Linked DNA regions of Homo sapiens: region 2 is linked to region 1. Evidence: promoter capture Hi-C in human tissues and cell types (Jung and others, 2019). All regions are on one chromosome and are shown on one strand. The core of a region is centred on a gene start or on the middle of the fragment in contact, and the rest is flanking DNA. Distances in the headings are between cores, read along the strand shown. Region 1 holds the start of DPEP1 (dipeptidase 1). Region 2 overlaps CDK10 (cyclin dependent kinase 10).

Region 1 (6,559 bases), core at 912-3,411:
CCGGGGCCCCCGTGTTGACCGCCTGCCTGGCTGCTGCAGCTCCTGCCCTCTGGTGGCCAAATCCCAACGTGCCTCCGTGGGGCCGGTTCCCGGCTCCAGTTCACCGGGGCCTCGCGGGGTCCTGCAAGGCGGGGTCCTGGGGGCTCACTTCACCCAAGAACCAGCTGCTCCTCCCTCAGGGTGGGCTCTGCCTGTGGGCTCTGAAGACCTGGGAAGGCTGAGCAGGTGCTCGGAGCCACCACTGCTTCCATGGGTGTCCTGCCCTTTAACCCACGCCCTCACCCCTGAGAGCAAGGCTGCTGTTACCCCTGTCTCCTACTCTTGGAAACTGAGGTAGAGAAGACAGGTCCAGCCCCCTGGCTCATGGGAGATGGAGCCAGGATGTACGCACAGGACACAGGTCCAGAGACTCCAGAGCTGCGTGTAGACCAGCACCACTGCCCTGCCAGGCCCGCCTGCCCGCTCTGTACCCAGTGGGAGCTGGGAGCCTCAGCCCGACCTGTGAGGCCACCCCTCAGGGGCGGCTCTGAGAGGCCGCTTTGGGGCTCAGTGTCCGTCCACCGCAGCCTACGTCCCCCTGAAGCTGCAAGCAGGGACTGAGGGACCCTCCCCGTCTGCTCCTGGCCTCCGACTGGAGATTTGTCAAAGCTGACCTTTTGTCGACAAGGAGACTGAGGCCCAGCGGGAGGTATTTTAGAGACACTTCCACGTTTGGAGGCCCTAGATGCCCCCTTCCACCCATGACACCCACTGAGCTTCTCCATGGGGTCAGACGCCAATCAGCAAGAATTCGCCAAGAGATGTGGAGGCTACTAGACCCTCACCATGAAAATAGCTTGGCTGTGTAAGAGCCATTGGCCGAAGTAGGTTCTGCCCTTCGCTAGCCCAGCCGCAGCTCCAGACTCCAACTTCCGCCTGTGCCCAAGGCTTTCTCTCTAGCATGTCCTGTGATAACCCTGAAGCTCCCCGCACCCTACCCGGGGAGAAGATTTTTCTTTTATTTTTTTGGATACGGAGTCTCGCTCTGTCACTCAGGCTGGAGTGCAGTGGCACGATCTCAGCTCACCGCAACCTCCGCCTCCCGGGTTCACGCCATTCTCCTGCTTCAGCCTCCCGAGTAGCTGGGACTACAGGCGCCCGCCACCACGCCCGGCTAATTTTTTGTATTTTTTATTAGAGACGGGGTTTCACCGTGTTAGCCAGGATGGTCTCGATCTCCTGACCTCATGATCTGCCCACCTCGGCCTCCCACAGTGTGGGGATTACAGGCGTGAGCCACCGCGCCCGGCCACAGCTTTGATTTTCATTCAGCAAATCCTTTCCACCTGGAAGGAAATTGTGGGGCCGGACAACAGGCCCTGCTCTTAGCTGGGCGGGAAGGCAGATGACTGCGCAGAGAATTCCAGAACAGAGAGTAAGTCCGGGGACTCGGCGCTCCTCACACAGCCTCTGAGAACTCTTCCTGGAGGAAGGGGTACGTGAGCTGAGTCCCAAGGGTGCCTAGGACCGCACTGGGCGCCACAAGGAAGGAACAGCCGGCACAGTGGACAAGCGGGGTTGTGGGGCCTCTGGAGGGCCTGGCGGGTCCAGACCTCATCCTAGGGACCACGGGGAGGGCCAGTGGGAGGACAGCGGCGGGTCTGAGAGCAGCTCTCCCACCTCCTTGAGTCCCAGGAAGCCGCCGCGTCCCCTGCCCCACACACCTGGCCCCAGTTTCCTAGAATCCCAGGAAGCAGCCGCGTCCCCTGCCCCACACACCTGGCCCCAGTTTCCTAGAATCCCAGGAAGCAGCCGCGTCCCCTGCCCCACACACCTGGTGCCAGCCTCCTAGAATCCCAGGAAGCTGCCTCGTCCCCTGCCCCACACACCTGGTCCCAGCCTCCTAGAATCCCAGGAAGCCGCCCCGTCCCCTGCCGCACACACCTGGCCTCAGCCTCCTAGAATCCCAGGAAGCCGCCGCGTCCCCTGCCCCGCACGCCTGGTCCCAGCTTCCACCCACAGTGGTGCCCTGGGGTCCCCGGGCCTGCACCACCCCAGGTGGGCACCCCAGTACCCTGGCGCACCGACTCCCCAGCCCACTCACCCTGGCCTCTGCGATGCAGACTTGCTCCCTGGCAGGGCCCGGCCTAGGCAGCTCCCACGCCAGGCTCACAGCTGGGCTGGCCCTACCCGGCCACCTGCTGCCCCTCCCAGGCCCCTCCTCAGGAAGGTGAAACTGCCCCATTTCCTGCAGGAACCCTGTGTTCTCTGAAAGTAGAAAGAGGAGGGAAATGGAGGAGGGGAGGGGAAGGTTGGAGAGAAAGGGCCAGGGGTCGGAAGGAAGGGCTGCAGGAGGGAGAGAGGAGGAGGGAGAGAGGAGGAGGGAACTTTGCTCCAGGAGATGGCTCTGCGTCCTGACCTCCCCCAAGGCTAGAAACTTCTCCAGCAGCTTCCTCATTTCCTGAGAGTGCCCTGAGATGTCCTGGCAGTGTTTTTCCCTCATGTGTGGATGTGCCACCTCCCAGCCAGGGGGGTGCGTGCACAGCTGTGCTGTCCAGCTCTGTGATGTCAGATCTTAGAGAATGCTACACATCAGTACACATAAGCCATCTGTGTCCTTTTTCTCATGCATTTTCGTTGTGAAAATACAACATGTATACCAACAAGACATATAGGTGTTGGGAGGGAAACTGAGGCAGGGCTTGCATGATGTCCTTTGGAATGTGTCTAGACTTGCTGGCTCCTTCCTTCTAGCCCTCCTAGGCCCCTATTCCCATTATCTCAAGTAGCAGAACATGCTCCATATAAATGCTAAACCGGCACAGCTGTAATCATGTGCTTAATGCAACGTGGTCTTTTGACCTCCATATTCTCACCATCTGTTTCTTTGTTGCATTACCAATAAATACCGTGGGCTCCCAGAGCTCGGGCTTTTGCAGCCTCCACAATAGCGATGGCCCCCTGGTGTGCCACCTTTCTCTCTCTGTGTTTTTCTGAATCCTTTGACTCCGCCGGACTTTGTCACCCCCACGACCTGGGGTTGGGTCTGATCACCCCAACATATAGGTACTGTACCTTTACACAGAAACTACACAGGTGTTCGTAGCAGGACAATTTAGTATAGCCAAAATGTGGGAAGAGTGCAGATGCCCAACACGGGGACAGATAAATGTGTCTCTTCACGCAGTGGAGTATTACTCAGCCATGAAGAAGAGTGACGTGCTGACACGTGCTATAACATGAAGAACCTCAGAAACATTTCGCTAAGTGGCAGAAGCCAGATAGTCGGGTGTGGTGGTGCGCACCTGTGGTCTCTGCTGTGAGGCTGAGGCAGGAGGAGCGCCTGAGCCTGGGAGACTGAGGTTACAGTGAGCTGCGATCACGCCATTGCACTTCAGCCTGGGCCGCAGAGTGGGAGCCTGTCTCAGAAAAGAAAGAAAGAAGCTAGACTCAAAAGACCACATGTCGTGTGATTCCACTTATATGAAATGTCCAGAATAAGTGACTCCATAGACACAGAAGGTGGATTCATGGTTGTTGAGGCTGTGAAGGAAAGTGGGGAGTGGGTGCTAATGGGAATGGGTTTCTATTTGGGGCAATGACTTTTTTTTTTTTTTTTTTGAGACAGAGTCTTGCTCTGTCGCCCAGGCTGGAGTGCAGTGGCGCGATCTCAGCTCGCTGCAACCTCCACCTCCTGGCTTCACGCCATTCTCCTGCCTCAGCCTCCCGAGTAGCTGGGACTACAGGCGCCCGCCACCACGCCCGGCTAATTTTTTGTATTTCTTTTTTAGTAGAGACGGGGTTTCACCGTGTTAGCCAGGATGGTCTCGATCTCCTGACCTCGTGATCCGCCCGCCTCGGCCTCCCAGTGTGATACCCAACCTTGTTTTAACCTAAGTGACCTTCTCGTAGCAGAGAGAGCGCCGGACAGACTCCATTTTAGTTTCTTCACCTGCAGCCCCCTTCACCTCCCTCCCTTAAGGCTTAACTAGTGTGACTGACTCAAAGCACGTCTGGGAATGCACCTACTGATAAGATACTGAGGCAAGCTGCACCAGCAGCTCCTCGGGACGCGCTCGGTGGATGGCACCCGAAGCCCCTGCATTTATCTCTTTGTGATAGTTTAAGCCCCTGCACCTGGAGCTGTTTATTTTTTGTAACTGCATTTGTAACCAATTAATTTTTTAACTTTTTGCCAGTTCTGCTTCTATAAAAATTGCTTCAGTTAAACTCCCCCCCCCCATTTAGACCACGGTATACAAACAAAGCTAGCCCCTTCCTCAGGGCCGAGAGAATTTTGAGCATTAGCGGCCTCTCGGTCGCAGGCTAATAAAGGACTCCTTAATTTGTCTCAAAGTGTGGTGTTTCTCTATAACTCGCTTGGTTACAACACCAAAGTGCTGGGATTACAGGCGTGAGCCCCTGTGCCCTGCGAGGGCAATGAAAATTTTTAAATTAAAAATCTGGAATTAAATAGTAGTGATGGCTGTGCGACTCTGAATATTCTAAAAACATTCAATTGTGCACACTAAAGGGATGGATTTTATGGTGTGTGAATTGTCTCAATAAAGCTTCTATAAAAATATAAGTACAGTTATCCAGGCACGGTGGCTCATGCCTGTGATCCCAGCACTTTGGGAGGCCGAGGTGGGCGGATCACTTGAAGTCGGGAGTTTGAAACCAGCCTGGGCAACGTGGTGAAACCCCATCTCTACTAAAAATGCAAAATTTAGCCAGACGTGGTGACATGCGCCTGCAGTCCCATCTACTTAGGAAGCTGAGGCAGGAGAAGTGTTTGAACCCAGGAGGTGTAGGTTGCAGTGAGCTGAGATCGTGCCACTGCCCTCCAGCCTTGGCAACAGAGTGAGTCTCTGTCTCAAAATAAACAAATACATAAAAATAAAAAAAATTATGGGCCAGGCACGGTGGCTCACGCCTGTAATACCAGCACTTTGGGAGGCCGAGGCGGGTGGATCACCTAAGGTCAGCAGTTCAAGACCAGCCTGGCCAACATGGTGAAACCCTGTCTCTACTAAAAATACAAAAAATAGCCGGGCGTGGTGACGGGCGCCTGTAGTCCCAGCTACTCGGGAGGCTGAGGCAGGAGAATCGCTTGAACCCAGGAGGTGAAGGTTGCAGTGAGCCGAGATCGTGCCTCTGCACTCCAGCCTGGGCGACAGAGCGAGTCTCCATCTCAAAAAAAAAAAAAAAAAAAGAACCTGAAAATAATGAAAGATCTGATGAGAGTTCATTATAAAAACAACACACAATGAATTCTGGTTGTTTTTGTGACACACGACGTATTAAATAACAACTGAAATCATGAACAGTAACAGAGGCGAACAGATCGGATAACAAGGGCATTGACAAATTTTTAGGACATTTATATAATTTCTGAAATAGCAACATTTTAACTATATAAATATAATGTATGGAAAGTTAAGTGTCTTTTGACAATGCTTCCCATGTAATTGAATATATCAAATAAACTGAATTAGTTTAACATCTCCCTTTTAACAAGGTGGTAGAACAAATCCTTTGAAACTGTCAGTTTCAAAGATTTGACAGTTTCAAAGGATTTGAGTTTTGAGATTTTCCAGGGACCTTCTAGAAAACTTCAAAGTCCGTTTGAGGTCAAGAAGATTTAATTTAGAATTTGATTCTGATTTTGGGAAGTTGGCAAAGATGTCAAAAGATCTGAAAACTTAAATAAAATAGGATCATATGTCATCGTGAAACAATATTTCGTTATCTGTTTAACCAAAGTGACAATAAAGATTTCAAAGGTAAATAAAGGTGATAACATAAGACAATAAACCAACACATGTATAAGAGGGAAAGAGTGTGAACCTCCAGGGCCCATCTGGAGGATAATGGTTAAAAAAAACCATGGGTTGGACACAGTGGCTCACGTCTGTAAGCCCAGCACGTTCCCATTTGTGTTTTGTTTTGTTTTGCTTTTTAAACAGAGTCTCGCCCTGTCACCCAGCCTGGAGTGCAGTGGTGTGATGTCGGCTCACTGCAACCTCCACCTCCTGGGTTCAAGCCGTTCTCTGCCTGAGCCTCCCGAGTAGCTGGGATAATAGGCATGAGCCACCAAACCTGGCTAATTTTTGTATTTTTAGTAGACACGGGGTTTCACCATATTGGCCAGGCTGTGGTTTTTTTTGTTTTTTTGTTTTTTTAAGACGGAGTCTCACTCTGTCGCCCAGGCTGGAGTGCAGTGGCGCCATCTCAGCTCACTGCAAGCTCCGCCTGCCGGGTTCACACCATTCTCTCGCCTCAGCCTCCCGAGTAGCTGGGACTACAGGAGTGAGCCACTGCGCCCGGCCAGCCAGGCCGGTCTTAAACTCTTGACCTCAAGTGATCCGCCCGCCTCGGCCTCCCAAAGTGCTGGGATTACAGGCATGAGTCACTGCGCCCGGCTGCATCTCTGTTTTAAATAAATTTATAAACTAATAAAATAAACATGGCTGGGCAGGTGGCTCACGCCTGTAATCCAGCACTTTGGGAGGCCGAGGCGGATTACATGGGTTGATTACATGAGTTTAGGAGTTCGAGACCAGCCTGGCCAATGTGG
Region 2 (3,566 bases), core at 1,065-3,564, 76 kb before region 1:
CAGCCCCGGGGCTGCCTGCTCCCAACAGCCCAGGAAACCAGTGCCCTCATAAGGCTCTCGGCCCTGGGGCTGCCCGCTCCCAGCAGATGCCCCCACCACAGGAATTCCACCTCACTGAAGCTCGCTGAAACACTGGGAGGTGGAGGCAGAGGCAGCAGCAGCTCTTCAAGTCCCCAAGTGCCCTGTTTCGTTATAAATGTGCACCACAAGGGCCCATGAAGCCCATTCCCCCACCCCAGGCCCCTCTGCCACGCACCTGAGCCTCCGAGAAGGGTGTTGGCATATTCTCCAGGAGGCTGGCCAGGTCCTGCTCACAGTAACCCATCACCAGGAAGATGCTGGAAGAAACAGAAGATGCATGCCACTCTCCGGCCTTCTCCTAAGGGGTGGAAGTGGAGCCTCCCCTGCTGCAGGAGGGGACATGGGCAGGACAACCTGTGTCCCCCTCAGACAATGGGCTGAGCCAGGCGGTGAGGTGGGGTCATCTCTTCTCTGACAACCTCATGCCCAGTGACACTCAGTCCTCGCTCTGTGCAACACCTCTAGCCCAAGACACATGCTCCCTAGGGCCCAATGTGCAGACCAGGAGACCACGTACCTCTCCAGGTGGTTCCCCACAACCACCTCCTTCAGCTCCACGATGTTCGGATGACGCAGGCGGAGCAGCAGCGTGATCTCCCGCAAGCTGCTGATGGGGATGCCTGGGGAGGGAGGTGGCCTCAGCGAGCCCCACCCCAGTGATGGCGGGGAAGCCCCAACCCCAGCCACTCTTGGGCTTCACGAACACCTGATAGCAGGTGCTGCAGTGTCCCCACCTCAGGGAGAATTGGGGCGACCCCAATAAGCATTTTTTTTTTTTTGAGACGGAGTTTCGCTCGTTGCCCAGGCTGGAGTGCAATGGCACCATCTCGGCTCACCGCAACCTCTGCCTCCCGGGTTCAAGCAATTCTCCTGCCTCAGCCTCCCTAGTAGCTGGGATTACAGGCATGTGCCACCACGCCTGGCTAATTTTGTATTTTTAGTAGAGATGGGGTTTCTCCATGTTGGTCAGGCTGGTCTTGAACTGCCGACCTCAGGTGATCCGCCTGCCTCGGCCTCCCAAAGTGCTGGGATTACAGGCATGAGCCACCATGCCCGGCCCAATAAGCACTTTTAACTCTTCCTTGACCAAATACGAATCGGCACCTCTCTAAACACCGTGGACATCTATGTGGGGCATGGCAGGGCCCTGCCTGCACAGGCAGGTGCTGGGGGTGGAGGGGACAGCAGAGCTGAGCCTGCAGTGAGGTGGCCTCACCAGACAGGAGGGGGAGGAGGGGATGGAGACTGCAGAGCCCTCCTGGCAGACAGCTGAGGCTGCGTGTGGACCTGGGGGTGATGTGCTGGGCCACACCAGAACCCTCCCAGAGGCCGGCCCCCGCTACAAGCACCGTGCAGTCGCTCTGAGGAAACTTCAGGTAACTCACATCCTTCTGCCTCCTCCCAGTGCGAGGTCCCAACACCCCAATTTCCTGCTCACCATCCTTCTCCTTGTCCATCCGCACCTTCTTCAGTGCGACAATCTCATCTGTCTGGGTGTCCCGGGCCCGATCTGGAATGGAAACACATTGGTGATGACATCATCTCGATGCCCCTCGTGGGCTCCCTAGCGCTGAACGGGAGGCTCTCCCTGAGCCACAGGGGTCCCCGTTCTTTCCTCTGACAACCTCATGCCCAGTGACACTCAGTCCCCACTCTGTGCAACGCCCCTAGCCCGAGACGCGTTCCCCCGGAGGGTTTCCTCATTTGAACTGGGCAGGGGGTGCCCAACTTTGCTCTGTGCTGGACCCTGGCCTCCAGCCACTCAGTTCTGTGGCTCCAGGCTCTCCATGTCCTCCTTAGCATGCAGATCACTGCTTTGTGCTCTCTTGTAATGTCCTAAAAGCAAATAAGGTACTCTATGCAGAAAAAAGCAAACCTTATTTTGTGTGAAGATGGCTCTACAAAACATCCTGCTAATGTGTGCAGCTTCCAGAATGACCTACGCCAATTTCACATCTGTTATAACCTTTAGTTGTGTGTGGTGTTTTTGGTTTTTTTGAGACAGGGTCTCACTCTGTTGCCAAGGCTGGGGTGCAGTGGCGTGATCACAGCTCACTGCAGCCTCAAACTCCTAGGCTTGGCCGGGTGCAGTGGCTCACACCTGTAATCCCAGTGCTTTGGGAGGCCGAGGCAGGAGGATCATTTGAGCCCAGAAGTTCAAGACCAGCCTGGGCAACATAGGGAGATCCCATCTCTACCAAAAATTTAAAAATTAGCTGGGTGTGCTTATGTACTCTTGTGGTCCCAGATACTCAGGAGGCTGAGGTGGGAGGATCACTTGAGCCTAGGAGGTCGAGGCCGCAGTGAGCTATGATCATGCCACTGCACTCCAGTCTGGGCAATAGAGCAAGACCCATCTCAAAAACAAACAAAAAGAAAAAACACCTGGGCTCAGGTGACTCCTCCAGAGTTGCTGAGGTGATAGACATGAGCACCATGTCCAGCTCCTGCTGCTTCTGGAAAGTTCTGTATTTTATTTCTCTAACAGTTCTGTGTACTCTGCAGTGACACGTTTGGATTATGGGCATTAGCAACCGGATGCTTACGTTTACCCAGAAATGGTACAATGTTTGTGATAACTACATCAGGAATTGAAGTTCCTGAACAGGTTTCTGCCCTGTTTCAGAGCACAGGGTCTGAGTCCCTTCCAGCCCCAACGCGGCTGCTGCTTCGACAGTCTCGTCCCACACTGTCACAGCCACGAGCTGCGGCCACATGTCCTAGCCTTGGCCACTCACACACAATGCCGTAGGTACCCTCTCCAATGCGGTTCAGCTTCTCAAACTCCTTCACACTCCGGCATCGTCCCAGCTGAAACAGAAGGGTGTTGCCAGTGTGGAAATTTGGCAGCTGATGGAACAACTGAGGAAATTTCAAATGGAATTTGTACCAGGGAGCCCACTCACGTCTTGCTCACCAAACAGAAAGGCAACCACACGTTTGGGCTTTTTTTTTCTTTTTTTGAGACTGAGTCTCGCTCTGTTGCCCAGGCTGGAGTGCAGTGGCAAGAACATGGTTCACTGCAACCTCCGCCTCCTGGGTTCAAGTGATTCTCCGGCCTCAGCCTCCTGAGTAGCTGGGATTACAGGCAGGTGCCACCACAACCGCCTAATTTTCTATTTTTAGTAGAGACTGGGTTTCACCATGTTGGCCAGGCTGGTCTTGAGCTCCTGACCTCAAGTGATCTGCCCGCCTTGGCCTCCCAAAGTGCTGGGATTACAAGCGTGAGCCACCGTACCCGGCCTCTTGGGCTTTTCTGATGAGAAAAGGTGGTGACGATACTGGGCCAATGCTTTGAAAGAAATATCAGAGGCGGCCACTCAGATACTCCCTTTCAATCCCACATACAAAAATACATCTGTGGCAGAGGCTGCTGTCCCAGCATCCCTGTATCACTACCTCCTGGAAGTTATGAAACGCTACCCAGTGGCATCTGGCCTTGGAATGTGAGCTGAAGGGACCGTGTGACTTCCAGGTGAAAGGAA

Evidence for each region. The method cuts DNA at HindIII sites, captures the fragments that hold promoters and counts their contacts. A contact is called where the count stands out against the background at its distance.
Region 2: a fragment that was not itself captured here is called in contact with the fragment with the promoter of DPEP1 in region 1 in 6 of the 25 tissues and cell types used here (heart right ventricle, lymphoblastoid cells, mesenchymal stem cells and 3 more).

Annotation. Positions count from the first base shown.
Region 1 is chr16:89,609,244-89,615,802 of GRCh38, reverse strand. DPEP1 (dipeptidase 1) reads right to left here and starts at 2,161. Exons shown (of 11, transcript NM_001389466.1): 1 at 2,084-2,161. RefSeq lists enhancers at 1-292, 293-997 and a silencer at 2,403-2,561. The HindIII fragment of the contact is 39,869 bases long and covers 1-6,559 here.
Region 2 is chr16:89,688,578-89,692,143 of GRCh38, reverse strand. It overlaps CDK10 (cyclin dependent kinase 10), which reads right to left. Exons shown (of 13, transcript NM_052988.5): 2 at 2,820-2,892; 3 at 1,520-1,591; 4 at 599-701; 5 at 257-338. Among named protein-coding and RNA genes, the nearest start is that of LINC02166, 3.4 kb to the right of the region's middle. The HindIII fragment of the contact is 5,257 bases long and covers 1-3,566 here.